Linked DNA regions of Homo sapiens: all the other regions are linked to region 1. The links are contacts of gene promoters, found by promoter capture Hi-C in human tissues and cell types (Jung and others, 2019). All regions are on one chromosome and are shown on one strand. The core of a region is centred on a gene start or on the middle of the fragment in contact, and the rest is flanking DNA. Distances in the headings are between cores, read along the strand shown. Region 1 holds the start of TMEM160 (transmembrane protein 160). Region 2 overlaps SAE1 (SUMO1 activating enzyme subunit 1). Region 3 overlaps SAE1 (SUMO1 activating enzyme subunit 1).

Region 1 (4,704 bases), core at 1,521-4,020:
AGTTAGTCCGCTCCTCGCCGCCCTTCCCAAGGAACACGAACCAATACTCTGCATCTGGAGGAGGGGAGGTCAGGTTTAATGTCCCAGTCCTCGGGCGCTGTCCAGCGCCTGCCAGGCCCCACGGCCGTGTCGCTCACTCGGGTGGCGGCCGACCCGCCTCATCAGGGCCTTCCGCGGAGGCCGTCCCGTCGTCCTCGGGCACCAGCTCCACGTCCAGCTCCAGCTGCCCCATGTAGAGGCCCACGGCGCACGCCCAGAGCAGGCTGGCGGCCAGCACGGCGCCCGCGCCCACGGCCGCGCCCCCCAGCGTCAGCTGCATGGGTCCTCGCAGCGCCGCCAGGCCCACGGCGTACGAGGCGCTGCCCCACACCACGCACAGGCCGCCCAGCAGGAAGAAGCCTGCGGGAGAGGCAGGGTAGCAACAGGGCCAAGGTCGGGGGATGGTCTGGGAGCAAAGCCAGGGTTGAGGAGACAGGAACAGAGGCAGGGCCGTGCCAGGGGCTAGCCTGCATCTTTGAGAATCAGATCGGAGGGGAGGGGACCATAACCATGTCCTGGGCCACCCATTCAGATGGACCTAGTGCCTATGGGAGGGGTGTCTTCTGGTGGGGGAAGAATGGGGGTTCTATACTTACTACTGGGAGTGGGATGGGGTAGGAGAGTCTACTCTCACCAGGGCAGGTGATAGGGGCTCTGCATTCCCTGGTTCCGTGGGGCGAGAGGGGGGGTCTGCACTCACCATATGCTGCTTCCCGACCCATGTCACTCTGCATGAAGGAGATGACCCCGATGCCCGATGCCAGGAGGCCATTGCGGAACCAGGAGAGGAAGGCTGGAGGGAGGGGGACATGGGGGGATTAACATCACCCCCAACCCTACCTCCTCAATCCCCCTTACCCAGTCAAACTGAGGGGCCTCCCTTCAGCTCACCCCATCCCATCCAGCCGCAAGGCAAGCCCATCCCAAATCCTCACCTCTTCCAGGAAGCCGCTCACCTAACCATATCCCCCCACATCCTCTCTGGCCTCCACCTCAGTGCCCCTCTCCCCCAAACTCTGTAACACTAAGGATTCAAGGGCCGGGTGTGGTGGCTCACCCCTGTAATCCCAGCACTTTGGGAGGCCAAGGCAGGCGGATCATGAGGTCAGGAGTTTGAGACCAGCCTGGCCAACATAGTCAAACCCTGTCTCTACTAAAAATGTTAAAATTAGCAGGGTGTGGTAGCACGTGCTTGTAGTCCCAGCTACTCAGGAAGCTGAGGGAGGAGAATCACTTGAATCCAGGAGGTAGAGGTTGCAGCGAGCCAAGATCATGCCACTGCACTCCAGCCTGGGCGACAGAGTGAGACTCCGTCTCAAAAAAAATAAAGGATTCAAGATAGTCCCTGCAGAATGTGGAGGACAATCTAGGGGCAAAGTTGCAGAACCTCCATCTGAGGAGTCATCTTGGCCAAACCCCTCCCTCTACGTGTACCCCCACGGCCTGCCCACTCACTTCTTTCTCAGAACTCTGGGACAAACTGTTTCCTAATCCAGGCCGCTCTTCAGCCTCGCCCTTCTTTTCCTTCAAATGCCGCCATCTCCTACCGAGTATGGCCTGGGCCAATCCCATCCATGTCCTACCGAGTATGGCCTGGGCCAATCCCACCCACGTCCGTCCCCATTCACGTCCTTTACAAACAGCCCACCACACCCTATATCTAGATGCCCGGTCCTGGCCTAGTGAGGTGACTCACACCTATAATCCCAGCACTTTGGGAAGCCAAGGCAGGAGGATTCTCTGAGCCCAAGAGTTCAGACCAGCCTGGGCAACAAAGCAAGACCCCGTCTCTACATAAATTAAAATAGTTGGGTGCGGTGGTGTATGCCTGTAGCTCCAGCTAAGCAGGAGGCTGAGGCAAGAGGATAGCTTGAGCCCAGGAGTTCAAGGCTGCAGTGGGCTACGATTGCGCCACTGCGGTCCAGCCTCGGTGACAGAGCAAGACACCGTCATTAAAAAAATAAAATTAAAAAAAAAACAAACATGGCCAGTCCGCTCCATTCTGGACCTCGCCTCCGTCACAAGCCCCGCCCTCTGCAGCCTAGATCACCTCCCCCTCCAATCAGCAGAGAGCTTTCTCCCGATTGGTTGTCCCCTTCTCCAATCCTGAACTTCCCCCTCTTCTGCGGGGATCCACACTCCCGCTCTCTGCACAGTGGTGGCCTCTGCAATCGGGATGGACCCATCTTGTACCCAACTCCACAGACCCTAAGCTCTCCCTGAAGCCCCTCTCCCCACGGCAGGCGCGATTCTACGAGGCTGCCTCGCGCAACCCTACCACCCCCTCCAATCCCTACGGCGCCCCGTTACCCGGGGTCCTCGTCCTCCCCGCAAGCCCATCCCCTCTGCGGGCACCTGCGCTCTTGCAGTCTGCGCTTCCGTGCGCTCACACTGAAGCCCTTCTCGGAGCCGAGCCCGGGCCCCGTTTCCTGCAGAAGCCCCCGCCCCATCAAGGTCCCACGCGAGCCCGGGACCCCCGTCCCATCCGCACCGCCCCCACCCCTAGCCACCGACCTGTCTCGTGCGCTTTTCGGAGGAGCCAGGCGTCCGCACGATCCAGCTCGGACACTGGGGGCGGCGAAGCCCCGGCGCGGGGACCGTGGCCGGGGGCGAAGGACCCCCGGGCGCCCCCGCTCCGGGGCCGCTGAGGCGGCAGTAGCGACCTCCGGAAGCGAAGACGGGCAAGGCGAGCGGCCCGAGCCCACCACCAGCCGCCTCCCATGATTCGCACTACGGCCGCCGCGCGCCGTACCGCCCCACCGGCCTCCGGTAGGTTGCAACCCATGTCACTCAGGATGAATGGCTTACCCATTGGCTATGCGCTCGCCACTCAGGTCCGGCGTGAACTGTCCATTGGTCGGAATGGCAGTGATTCCCTCCTCTGTCATCTAGGCCGGTAGTGCCCGTCCCTCCTTGATTTTGTACCGGACTACGAATCCCAGCGATCATTGCGCTCGGGGAAAGCCGATATTCAGAAGTCGCAGGCGAGATGTCTGCTGGGAATTGTAGTTTTAATTCTATCTTTTTTAACGGAGTACATGCCGAGCACCTATTGTAGTTGTTTCTTGGTTGTTTCTCTTTCTTTCTTTCTCTTTCTTTCTTTCTTTCTTTTTCTTTCTTTCTCTTTCTTTCTTTCCTTCTTTCTTTCTTTCTCTCTTTCTTTTTCCCTCCCTCCCTCCCTTCCCTCCCCTCCTTCCTTCCTTCCCTCCTTCCTTTTTTTTCCCCGCCCCGAGACCGAGTCTTGCTCTGTCGCCCAGGCTGGAGTGCAGTGGTGCGATCTCGGCTCACTGCAACCTCCACCTCCCGGGTTCAAGCGATTCTCCTGCGTCAGCCTCCTGAGTAGCTGGGATTATAGGCATGCGCCACCACGCCCAGCTAATTTTTGTATCTTTAGTAGAGACAGGGTTTCACCATGTTGGCCAGGCTGGTCTCGAACTCCTGACCTCAAGTGATCCAACCGCCTCGGCCTCCAAAAGTGCTGGGATTACAGGCGTGAGCCACCGTGCCCGGCCAGGTCTGTCTCTTTAAGACAGATTTGTTTTCTTTGCCCTAACCCATTCCGGGATTCAGCTTTGCCTTCTCTCATCAGCATAAACCTTTTCACTAGCCAGGAATGTGAAAAATGTGTCTGGAATATTTTCAATTTGCACTTAATCCCATTTAAAGCTTCACATTCATTGCAAGCCTGCAGGCTATGCAGTGCAGTCCATTTGAACTCCCTCCTCAAGTGTAACCCCCTTGCTAGCTCCCCTACTTTTCCTCTTCATAAAATCCAAGCCCGGGCCAGGCACGGTGGCTCACATCTGTAATCCCACCACTTTGGGAGTCTGAGGCGGGCAGATCACGAGATCAGGAGTTCGAGACCAGCCTGACCAACATGGTGAAACCCCATCTCTACTAAAAATACAAAAATTAGGCATGGTGGCAGGCACCTGTAATCCCAGCTACTTGTGAGGCTGAGGCAGGAGAATCGTTTCATGCGCGTCCATGTGAAGAGACCACCAAACAGGCTTTGTGTGAGCAAGATGGCTGTTTATTTCACCTGGCTGCAGGCAGGCTGAGTCCGAAAAGAGAGTCAGCAAAGGGTGGTGGATTATCATTAGTTCTTAGAGGTTTTGGGATAGGCGGTGAAGTTAAGAGCAATGTTTTGCGGGCAGGGGTGGATCTCACACAGTACATTCTCAAGGGTGGGGAGAATTACAAAGAACCTTCTTAAGGGTGGGGGAGATTACAAAGTACATTGATCAGTTAGGTGGGGCAGGAACAAATCACAATGGTGGAATGTCATCAGTTAAGGCTATTTTTACTTCTTTTGTGGATCTTCAGTTACTTCAGGCCATCTGGATGTATACGTGCAAGTCACAGGTGATGCGATGGCTTGGCTTGGGCTCAGAGGCCTGACATTTCTGCCTTCTTTTATTAATAAGAAAAATAAAACAAAATAGTGTTGAAGTCTTGGGGGGTGGTATGGAGAGAGAATGGGCGATGTTTCTCGGGGCTGCTTCAAGCAGGATTAGGGGCGGCGTGCGAACCTAAAGTGGGAGAGATTAAGCTGAAGGAAGATTTTGTGGTAAGGGGTGATATTGTGGGGTTGTTAGAAGAAACATTTGTTGTGTAGAAGTATTGGTGATGGCCTGGGTACAGTTTTGTATGAATTGAAAAACT
Region 2 (4,449 bases), core at 1,776-4,275, 140 kb after region 1:
GCCTGTAATCCCAGCTACTCAGGAGGCTGAGGCAGTAGAATCGCTTGCACCTGGGAGGCGGAGGTTGCAGTGAGCAAAGATCGCGCCACTGCACTCCAGCCTGGGTGACAGAGCGAGACTCTGTCTTAAAACGAACAAACAAAAAAAACAAAAGTGAGCCAACCCTGGGGAGGAGTCTACGTTCAGCTGCAGGGAGCCAGGGAATTGGGGCCGAGGTGTCTGGCACAGAAAAGCTTTGGGCCTGTCTCAGGTAAATGAAGTTTTGATATAGATTCAACTCCCCTGCCCCCCACAATTGAACTGTTTTTGGGGGCCAGCAATTAGGGGCTAATTTGTGACAGTGACTTTATTTTCTTCCTACTAAAGTACTGGTTTATTCGGTGGCCTTGGTGATTAGATTTAGGCATAATAGTTAAATGTAATAGAAGTTTATGTAACAAACAGTGATTAATAATGTTGCTGTCCAGATTCCCGTTATAGCGCTAACCTGATGTTATGAACTGAGATTAAATTTGAATTTGAGTGCTTACATTATTTTGTAAAGGTGGTTGTATATTCACATATCCACAGTTTTTTCTATAAATAACGTGAAACCGTGCTTGGTTTCTCTTTTCCAAAGTTTGCCTTTTCCATTACATGGGCAAGTCCTGAACCTAAGCCGAGACACTAGTCCATCATCTCCAGCAATGAATGTCATCCCCCCAGACTTCAGCATCCTGAGTTAATTAAAAGGTGCAGATGAAGTTAATCAAGTTTGGAACTCTAATTTTGTGCAGTGTTTTGATACGATTTGATGAGTCATCTTTTGGTAGAGCACCTCTCTATCCCTGACAGTGTTTGATCTTAACGGAACAGTTTTATAATGTGTAAACTGGTGGGAGGTGCTCTTCAGAAATGCAGTCAACAGTGGTATGTGTGCGTGTTTGGCTCTTGGGGCGGGGCGGAAAGCAGAACAAAGGAGAATTTAATAAGCGAGAACTTGTCAGGGGCTAGGGTCAGTTCTGAGGCTGCTGCCTGTCAAGAACATGGCTTTCTTCCTGCCCCCCTCCACTGCTGCTAACTGGAGTCTGACCTTCGAGAAAGAGTGAAAAAAGACAGCTTCTGTTTGTTTTGCTGCAAGTAAGTGGCTGGACTGATTGGCCCCCTTCCCAGAGGCCCTGCAAGGACTTCAGATGTGGTCAGCGAGGTATGTGGATGGTGCCAGCCTGCCGGCCCTCGTCCAGCCAAACTGCACCAGGAACAGGCAAGGGTCCCAGAGAAACAGCGGGGTCAGCTGCTGCCGCCTTTGCTCCTGCTCTTAATGCTGTCCTATTTCTTCCTAAGAGGAAGCTGGTTTACTCTCTCAAGATTGATGGGCAAAGTTTTATATGACCACGGTCTCCACTTCTCACCCACTGAACTTACAGCTTGAAATTAACAGAGGCGAGGCCCATCTGGAAAAATGCATTTGACAAAAACTTGATCAAATGGGGGATCCCCTGAGGTGGGTGGCAAAGAACCAGACCACTTGGAATCCTAGGTGCTGTGTCCCTGTATGGACCTGCTGTTTCTTTTGGATTCCATTAGGGTTAAGAAGCACAAATTCTGAAGCTAGATTTGAGTTTACATTTCTGCTCCAGTACTTGGGAGTTACAGTGACCAAGTCATTTAATGTTTCTGAACTTCAGTTTCCTGATCTGTAAAGTAGGATGGGTAGGTTGGGCGTAGTGGGTCATGCCTATAATCCCAGCACTTTGGGAGGCTGAGGCAGGAGGATCACTTAAGGTCAGAAGTTCGAGACCAGCCTGGCCAACATAGTGAAGCCCCGTCACTAGTAAAAATACAAAAGTTATTTGGGCGTGGTTGTGGGCGTCTCCAGCCTGGGTGACAGAGTGAGACTCCATCTCAAAAAAAAAGAAGAAAAACAAAAACAAGTAAATAAATGAATAAAAATAAAGGAATCCAGCCATCTGTTAGTATAGCCAAAGCAGAGGATATTGCATCAAATGTTAAACGCTAGTCCTGTCAGTCACTCCTGAGAGAACAGGGCAACAAGACCCAGAAAGGGTATCAACACTGCCTGAGCAGATGGAGGCAAAGCTGTGCATGGGCTGCTTATAGGGCACAGTCTGAGGCCTTGCAGCAGTCACGTGGAAACTGAGGCTGCCTGCTTTCCAGGTGCAAGGTGATGGACAGTGGCAGGAACCCTGTGCTAGATGACTCTTGTGCGATCTTATTTCTTTGTTACTGGGACACAAGCACCAACTGTCACAAGGGACCAACAAGAGGAGGTGATTTTTTTTTTCAGCTGTTACCACAAAGCTTTTCATCTTTTGGTTTGAAAACATAGCTGTGGGAATAGGCCGGGCGCGGTGGCTCACACCTGTAATCCCAGCACTTTGGGAGGCCAAGGCGGGCCGATCACAAGGTCAGGAGATCGAGACCATCCTGGCTAACACGGTGAAACCCCGTCTATACTAAAAATACAAAAATTAGCCGGGCGTGGTGATGGCCGCCTGTAGTCCCAGCTACTCGGGAGGCTGAGGCAGGAGAATGGCGTGAACCCGGGAGGCGGAGCTTGCAGTGAGCCGAGATCGCGCCACCGCACTCCAGCCTGGGCAACAGAGCGAGACTCTGTCTCAAAAAAAAAAAAAGAAAAAAGAGAGAGAAAGAAAATATAGCTTTGGGAGCACCAAAGCCCAAAGCGTTATAGTGCCTACTATGTGTCAGGCACTATACTAAACATTTCACATGGCTTAGCACTCATGTGATCTTCACGATAACCTGGTGAGCGGGTAATTATTATCACCCTTCCTACTGGTTTGTTGTTGTTGTTGTTGTCGTCGTTGTTGTTTTGAGACAGAGTCTCGCTCTGTCACCCAGGCTAGATTGCAGTGGCACGATACCGGCTCACTGCAACCTCTGCCTCCTGGGTTTGAGCGACTCCTGCCTCAGGCTCCCGAGTAGCTGGGATTAAAAGCGTCCGCCACCATGCCCAGCTAATTTTTGTATTTTTAATAGAGATGGGGTTTTATCATCTTGGCCAGGCTGGTCTTGAACCCCTGACCTCGTGATCCACCCGCCTTGGCCTCCCAAAGTGCTGGGATTACAGGCATCAGCCACCATGCCCGGCTACTTAATTTATTTTTTGAGACAGCCTCTCTCTGTAGCCCAGACTGGAGTGCAGCGGTGTGATTTCGGCTCACCGCAACCTCTGAATCCTGGGTTCAAGCAATTCTACTGCCTCAGCCTCCCAAGTACTTGATTATAGGCACCCACCACACTTTCGGCTAATTTTCCTATTTTTAGTAGAGATGGGGTTTCACCATGTTGGCCAGGCTGGTCTCAAACTCCTGACCTCAAGTGATCTGCCCACCTTAGCCTCCCAAAGTGCTGGGGTTACAGGTGTGAGCCACTGCACCTGGCCTCCTTTATTTTATGGGACATTTTTTGAAAAGAGGCTTGGTCCAAACAGGCAGTACTTGCCACTTCTGCAGTCATTTCTCTACCCTGCCCCAAAATGGTTACTCAGTTGCATTTATTTACTACAATCGGAATACCAGCAGGACATCTACAAAAGTAGAAGTATTGGGTGGTAGCAGATCAGTGCTCTCTGGCATCCAGATCGTCTAGATGGTCACAGCCTTTTTTTTTTTTTTTTTGGAGACAGAGTCTTGCTCTGTCGCCCAGGCTGGAGTGCAGTGGCACAATCTCGGCTCACTGCAACCTCCACCTCCCGGGTTCAAGAGATTCTCCTGCCTCAGCCTCCCGAGTAGCTGAGATTACAGGCACCCACCACCATGCACGGCTAATTTTTTTGGTATTTTTAGTAGAGATGGGGTTTCGCTGTGTTGGCCAGGCTGGTCTTGAACTCCTGACCTCAGGTGATCCACCTGCCTCAGCCTCTGAAAGTGCTGGGATTACAGGCATGAGCCACCACACCTGGCCAATTGTTACAGCTTTGAGTTGACTGCCAAGTGTTGAGGTAGCATTGAGGGTTGCAGAAGCTGTGTTCTTGAAAAAGAGAAGAGAGTAACATTCTCAGAAAGCAAACAGTATTCAGAAGAGTCAATGGGTGTTCTGGAGCTTTTTTCTTTTCTTTCCTTTTTTTTTTTAAAGAAATTACCAGCTGGGTGCTGTGGCTCACGCCTGTAATTCCAGCACTTTGGGGGGCCAAGGTGGGAGGATCACCTGAGGTCAGGAACTTGAGACCAGGAATTTTTCTATTTTTAGTGAAACCCCATCTCTACTAAAAATACAAAAAATTAGCTGGGTGTGGCTGCAGGCACCTGTAATCCCCAGTTACTTGGCAGGTTGAGGCAGGAGAATGGCTTGAACCCGGGAGGTGGAGGTTGCATTGAGCCGAGATCACGCCATTGCACTCCAGCCTGGGCAACAGAGCAAGATTGTCTCAAAAAAAAAAAAAAAGAAAGAAAAGAAAAAGAAAAAGAAATTACCTCTTCTCTGATA
Region 3 (4,500 bases), core at 1,202-3,701, 160 kb after region 1:
TGTGAACCCTTTCTCAGAAAGATGTATGTGCATACAAGACTCAGTATGTTGTTTCGGGGGCTGACCCTGCCTCAAAAGACAGGGCCACGTGCTCACTCTCCTTCCCACCCCTCTCTCTCGCTCTCTGTTGCCCAGGCTGGAGTACAGTGGTGCCATCACAGCTCACTGCAGACTTGATTTCCCTGGACTTAAGTGATCCTCCCACCTCAGCTTCCTGAGGCACTGAGACTATAAGCACACGCCACCACATCCAACTAATTTTTTTTATTTTTTGTAGATATGGGGTTTTGCCATGTTGCCCAGGCTGGTCTCGAACTCCTGGGCTCAAGTGATTCTCCCGCCTCGGCCTCCCTAAGTGCTGGGATTACAGATGTGAGACATTAAGCCCAGCCCTGTTCTTGTATTTTAAAGTGCTCTGTCTGGTAACCCCACAAGATAATCACCATTGCCATTGCTAAATAGCATTGTCCAGGCCCTCTGGATCCCAGCCCTGACCCCCTGTGGAAGCCTAGCGACTCTATGTCCTCATGGAATAGCCCCCGCTTCTGCATCAGTGTGTTCCTTGATTAAATGTGTCCCCTTAGGTGATAAAGGCCACAGCCTAAGAACTGCCACCTTTCTCAGTTGAATAGTCATGAATAATTATTTCTGCTGTTTGCCCAATGGTGGTGCAACACAGTGTTAGTCATTGTTTTAGTTTTAAGGTGTTTTTTTGTTTGTTTGTTTTTTGTTTTGAGACAGGGTCTCACTCTGTTCCCCAGGCTGGAGTATAGTGGCACTATTACAGCTCACTGCAGCCTCAATGTCCCAGGCTCAAGCGATCCTCCCACCTCAGCCTCCCGAGTAGCTGGCACCTTGGGCATGCATCACCATACCTGGCTAATTTATGTCATTTTTCTTTTTCTCTTTTTTTTTGAGACAGAGTCTCACTGTGTCGCCCAGGCTGGAGTGCGGTGGCGCAATCTCAGTTTACTGCAACCTCTGCCTCCTGGGTTCAAGCAATTCTCCTGCCTCAGCCTCCCGAGTAGCATGCCACCATACTCGGCTAATTTCTGTATTTTTAGTAGAGACAGGTTTCACCGTGTTGGCCAGGCTGGTCTCCAACTCCCAACCTCAGGTGATCCGCCCACTTCAGCCTCCCAGAGTGCTGGGATTACAGGCGTGAGCCACTGCGCCCCACCTATTTTAGTTTTCATATAGACGGGATCTCACCATGTTGCACAGACTGGTCTTGAATTCCTGGGCTCAAGTGATTCTCCCACCTCAGCCTCCCAAAGTGCTGGGATTACAGGTGTGAATGTGCCTGGCCCTGGCCTGTTTTACATTTTTGAGATACATAGTTTAACCCAGGCAAATACATTTCTTAATCTCATGTTAGGAAAATAAGGTAATGTTTGGAGAGGTTAAATAATCTCCCCATGGACACACAGCTTGTAAGGGACAGAGCAAGGAGATAGGACAATCAAAATTGTCTCCAGACATTGCCAAATAGCCCTTTGGGAGCAAAATCGACCCCAGTTAAGAACCACTGCCCTAGACTGCTTTTAGAATTTTTTTTTCCCTCTATTCCTCTTAAAGCACTTGAGCTAAACCCTCTTTTCATTTTTCTCCCCAGGCCCTGTCTCAGCGGGACCCTCCTCACAACAACTTCTTCTTCTTCGATGGCATGAAGGGGAATGGGATTGTGGAGTGCCTTGGCCCCAAGTGAACTCAAGATTTGGCAGCCCCAGAGATGCCAACTGCAGCATGCCCACCTGTATTCCCTGTCCCCTTCCTTCATGAAGGCATCTCCAGGCAAGGAAAACTGAAGTCATTGGCCCGATACAAAACATTTCCTGCAACGAAGGAGGTGGTGCCGACGTGCTGCTTCCCATCACCAGCAGCTGCTCGACAAGGGGCGCAGGGTGGCTGTCTTTGTTCCAGCACTGTTCAGGCTGCCTGTCATCCCGGGCCTGCCAGCTCCCCTGAGTGATGAGCACTTCCAAGCACCCCTCTGCCCTTTCTCTGTCCTTATGCTGTCCCGGCCTCGCCAGCCCTCTGGGGCATTGTGGGAGATGCCTGCCAGGAATGAGCAAGCTCTGTTGCTCGGGAGCCTCTTGTCACCTTCTTGGACTTATTCCCCACCTGATACCTTATAGAGAAAAGTGTGAATTCAGGTGGAGAGTAGGCCCAGGCCCCATGAGGCACCAGTGGAAGCACAGCTCCAAGTTCAGACAGGTGCCCTTAGAGAGGAAAACCATGACAGGCAAATGCATTTCCTCTGGAGTTTGAGACCCTGACAAACAACAGGTGGCATCTGGTGTGCTGTTCTTGAGTTTTCGTTTAGGATTAGTTGAGTTCCAGCTGGGTTTTGGGAGAAAGGAGATGCTACCAAGTCTTGGATGTTAGGGCGAGACCCTGCAAGTTGAGTATTAGAGAGCTTGTCTTTCAAGGCAGGTTCCTGGGGCTTCAGGGCTAGGAGGGAGGAGCCTGCCCTTTTAACAGAACCCCAGTCACATGCGGCTCAAGTCACTCAGAGGCTGTTGCATTTCAGGGCTATGTTGGTCCTTTGTTTACCTCCTAAACCACAGCTGTTTGTGTTTCACATATGTTGTGAATTTTCCTTGGTTCTTTTTAAAGGAATGATAATAAAGTTACTTGCTTTAGGATTTGCTTGTTTTTCTTCCACTTCAGAAGCTTCTGAGAGGGAATGGGATGATCCTACCAGTTGCCTTTTCAGACCTGAGGCTCTAACTCAAGAGATTCCTCCTCTCCCTCACCATTCCTGCCACCATTTTTTCTGGGTGATGCAGCAAGAGTTAAATTGTTCACATTCTAGAATGTGTAGAAGCTTCTGGCTCCAGTTGTCTAATGGATAATTCAGCTAAATAGTGGCTATTTTCAGTGGCAAGAATTATAATAATAAAGGGAAGTCAAAAGTGATGCTTCATATGCCCCAAGTGCCACAGCCGCTACGGGTCAGAGCTTTTATTGGAAGACCAGGTTTGCCTTGATGCAGCCAAAGTGCGTTCCAGTTCACCCCACTCTTGCTTGTGTTTCTTCTTTATGTAAATTGTGTGATGTTTCAATAAATCAGTCTCTTTCCTATTCTGATCCTGCAGCAGTTAGTCGGGGAGAAAAGTGGTCTTCACTACAGAAGGGCCTCTGTTCCTCAACCCTGCATCACCTGCTCCCGCCGGAGGTGAGACAGGGGCTGCATTTCGGAAAGGATCCGTGTCTCGCCACCTTTAGTGCAAGTCAGTGGCGTCAGGGTCAGCAGTTACATTGCTGCATGAATTTCACGTGGTCTTTAAATTCTGAGCTAATTATACTCTTGACTGTAATGTGCAGCCTTGGTCACAAGGGGGAGCAGGTGGGTCTGGATTGATAAAAACAAAATTGTAGAATCGTCCCGGAAGCTTCAAACTTTTCCACCCTGTACCTCTAACGGCAGAGATTAAGTCACCCAGAGGACCCCTCAGGAATCGAGGGGAAAGCTGCCAGCCCCAGGCAAGAAATGTCTAGTTTCTACAAATTTCATAAACTGCCACATGATGTTTGTATTAATCATAAAAATGAAGAAAAAAAGGCCAGGCGTGGTGGCTCACGCCTGTAATCCCAACATTTTGGGAGGCTGAGGCGGACGAATCACGAGGTCAGGAGTTTGAGAGCAGCCAGGCCAACGTGGTGAAACCCTGTCTACTAAAATTACAAAAATTAGCCGGGCATGGTGGCGGGTGCCTGTAATCTCAGCTACTGGGGGAGGCTGAGACAGGAGAATCACTTGAACCTGGGAGGCGGAGGTCGCAATGAGCTGAGGTCGCACCACTGCACTCCAGCCCGGGTAACAGTGTGACACTCCATCTCAAAATCTGCAGTCAGTCAGGCATGGTGGGAGGCTGTGGCGGGAGAAGCACTTCAGCCCAAGAGTTCGTGACCAACTTGGGAAACAAAGCAAGACCCCATCTCCACAAAAAAAGAAATAGCTGAGCATAGTGGCTTGTGCCTGTGGTCACAGCTGCTTGGGAGACTGGGGCAGGAGGATCACTTGAGCCCAGGAGTTTGAGGCTGAAATGACCTGGATTTCACCACTGCACTGAAGCCTGGGTGAAAGAGTGAGACACTGTCTCGAAAAAAAAATCCCAGCACTTTGGGAGGCCGAGGCGGGCGGATCGCGAGGTCAGGAGTTCAACACCAGCCTGACCAACATAGTGAAACCCCGTCTCTACTAAAAAAAAAAAATACAAAAACTAGCTGGGCATGGTGGCGCGTGGCTGTAATCCAGCTACTCAGGAGGCTGAGGCAGGAGAATCGCTTGCACCTGGGAGGCGGAGGTTGCAGTGAGCCGAGATCGTGCCACTGCAGTCCAGCCTGGGCAACAGAGCGAGACTCCATCTCAAAAAAAAAAAAAAAAGTTATCTTGACGTATGTTCTATTAGCTCATTACAGGTGTGGAAGAGATGGCTTAGGTTGCAGGTGGTAAGTTTAATGATAACAACCAATGGTCATTATACCCATGCA

Evidence for each region. Contacts are between HindIII fragments. The study calls those that stand out against the background at their distance.
Region 2: a contact is called between a fragment that was not itself captured here and the fragment with the promoter of TMEM160 in region 1, in 1 of the 25 tissues and cell types used here (bladder).
Region 3: a fragment that was not itself captured here is called in contact with the fragment with the promoter of TMEM160 in region 1 in 3 of the 25 tissues and cell types used here (aorta, liver and mesenchymal stem cells).

What each region holds. Positions count from the first base shown.
Region 1 is chr19:47,045,854-47,050,557 of GRCh38, forward strand. TMEM160 (transmembrane protein 160) reads right to left here and starts at 2,771. Exons shown (of 3, transcript NM_017854.2): 1 at 2,554-2,771; 2 at 740-832; 3 at 56-399. The coding sequence starts at 2,761. The coding sequence ends at 134. RefSeq lists enhancers at 2,199-2,268, 2,778-3,072, 3,196-3,713, 3,714-4,231 and a silencer at 2,549-2,738. The HindIII fragment of the contact is 17,900 bases long and covers 1-4,704 here.
Region 2 is chr19:47,189,434-47,193,882 of GRCh38, forward strand. The region is part of intron 6 of SAE1 (SUMO1 activating enzyme subunit 1); the gene reads left to right. Among named protein-coding and RNA genes, the nearest start is that of MIR3190, 35 kb to the right of the region's middle. RefSeq lists an enhancer at 1-423. The HindIII fragment of the contact is 3,517 bases long and covers 1,268-4,449 here.
Region 3 is chr19:47,207,544-47,212,043 of GRCh38, forward strand. It overlaps SAE1 (SUMO1 activating enzyme subunit 1), which reads left to right. Exons shown (of 9, transcript NM_005500.3): 9 at 1,616-3,093. The coding sequence ends at 1,708. Among named protein-coding and RNA genes, the nearest start is that of MIR3190, 17 kb to the right of the region's middle. RefSeq lists enhancers at 1,448-2,197, 3,189-3,483. The HindIII fragment of the contact is 3,338 bases long and covers 783-4,120 here.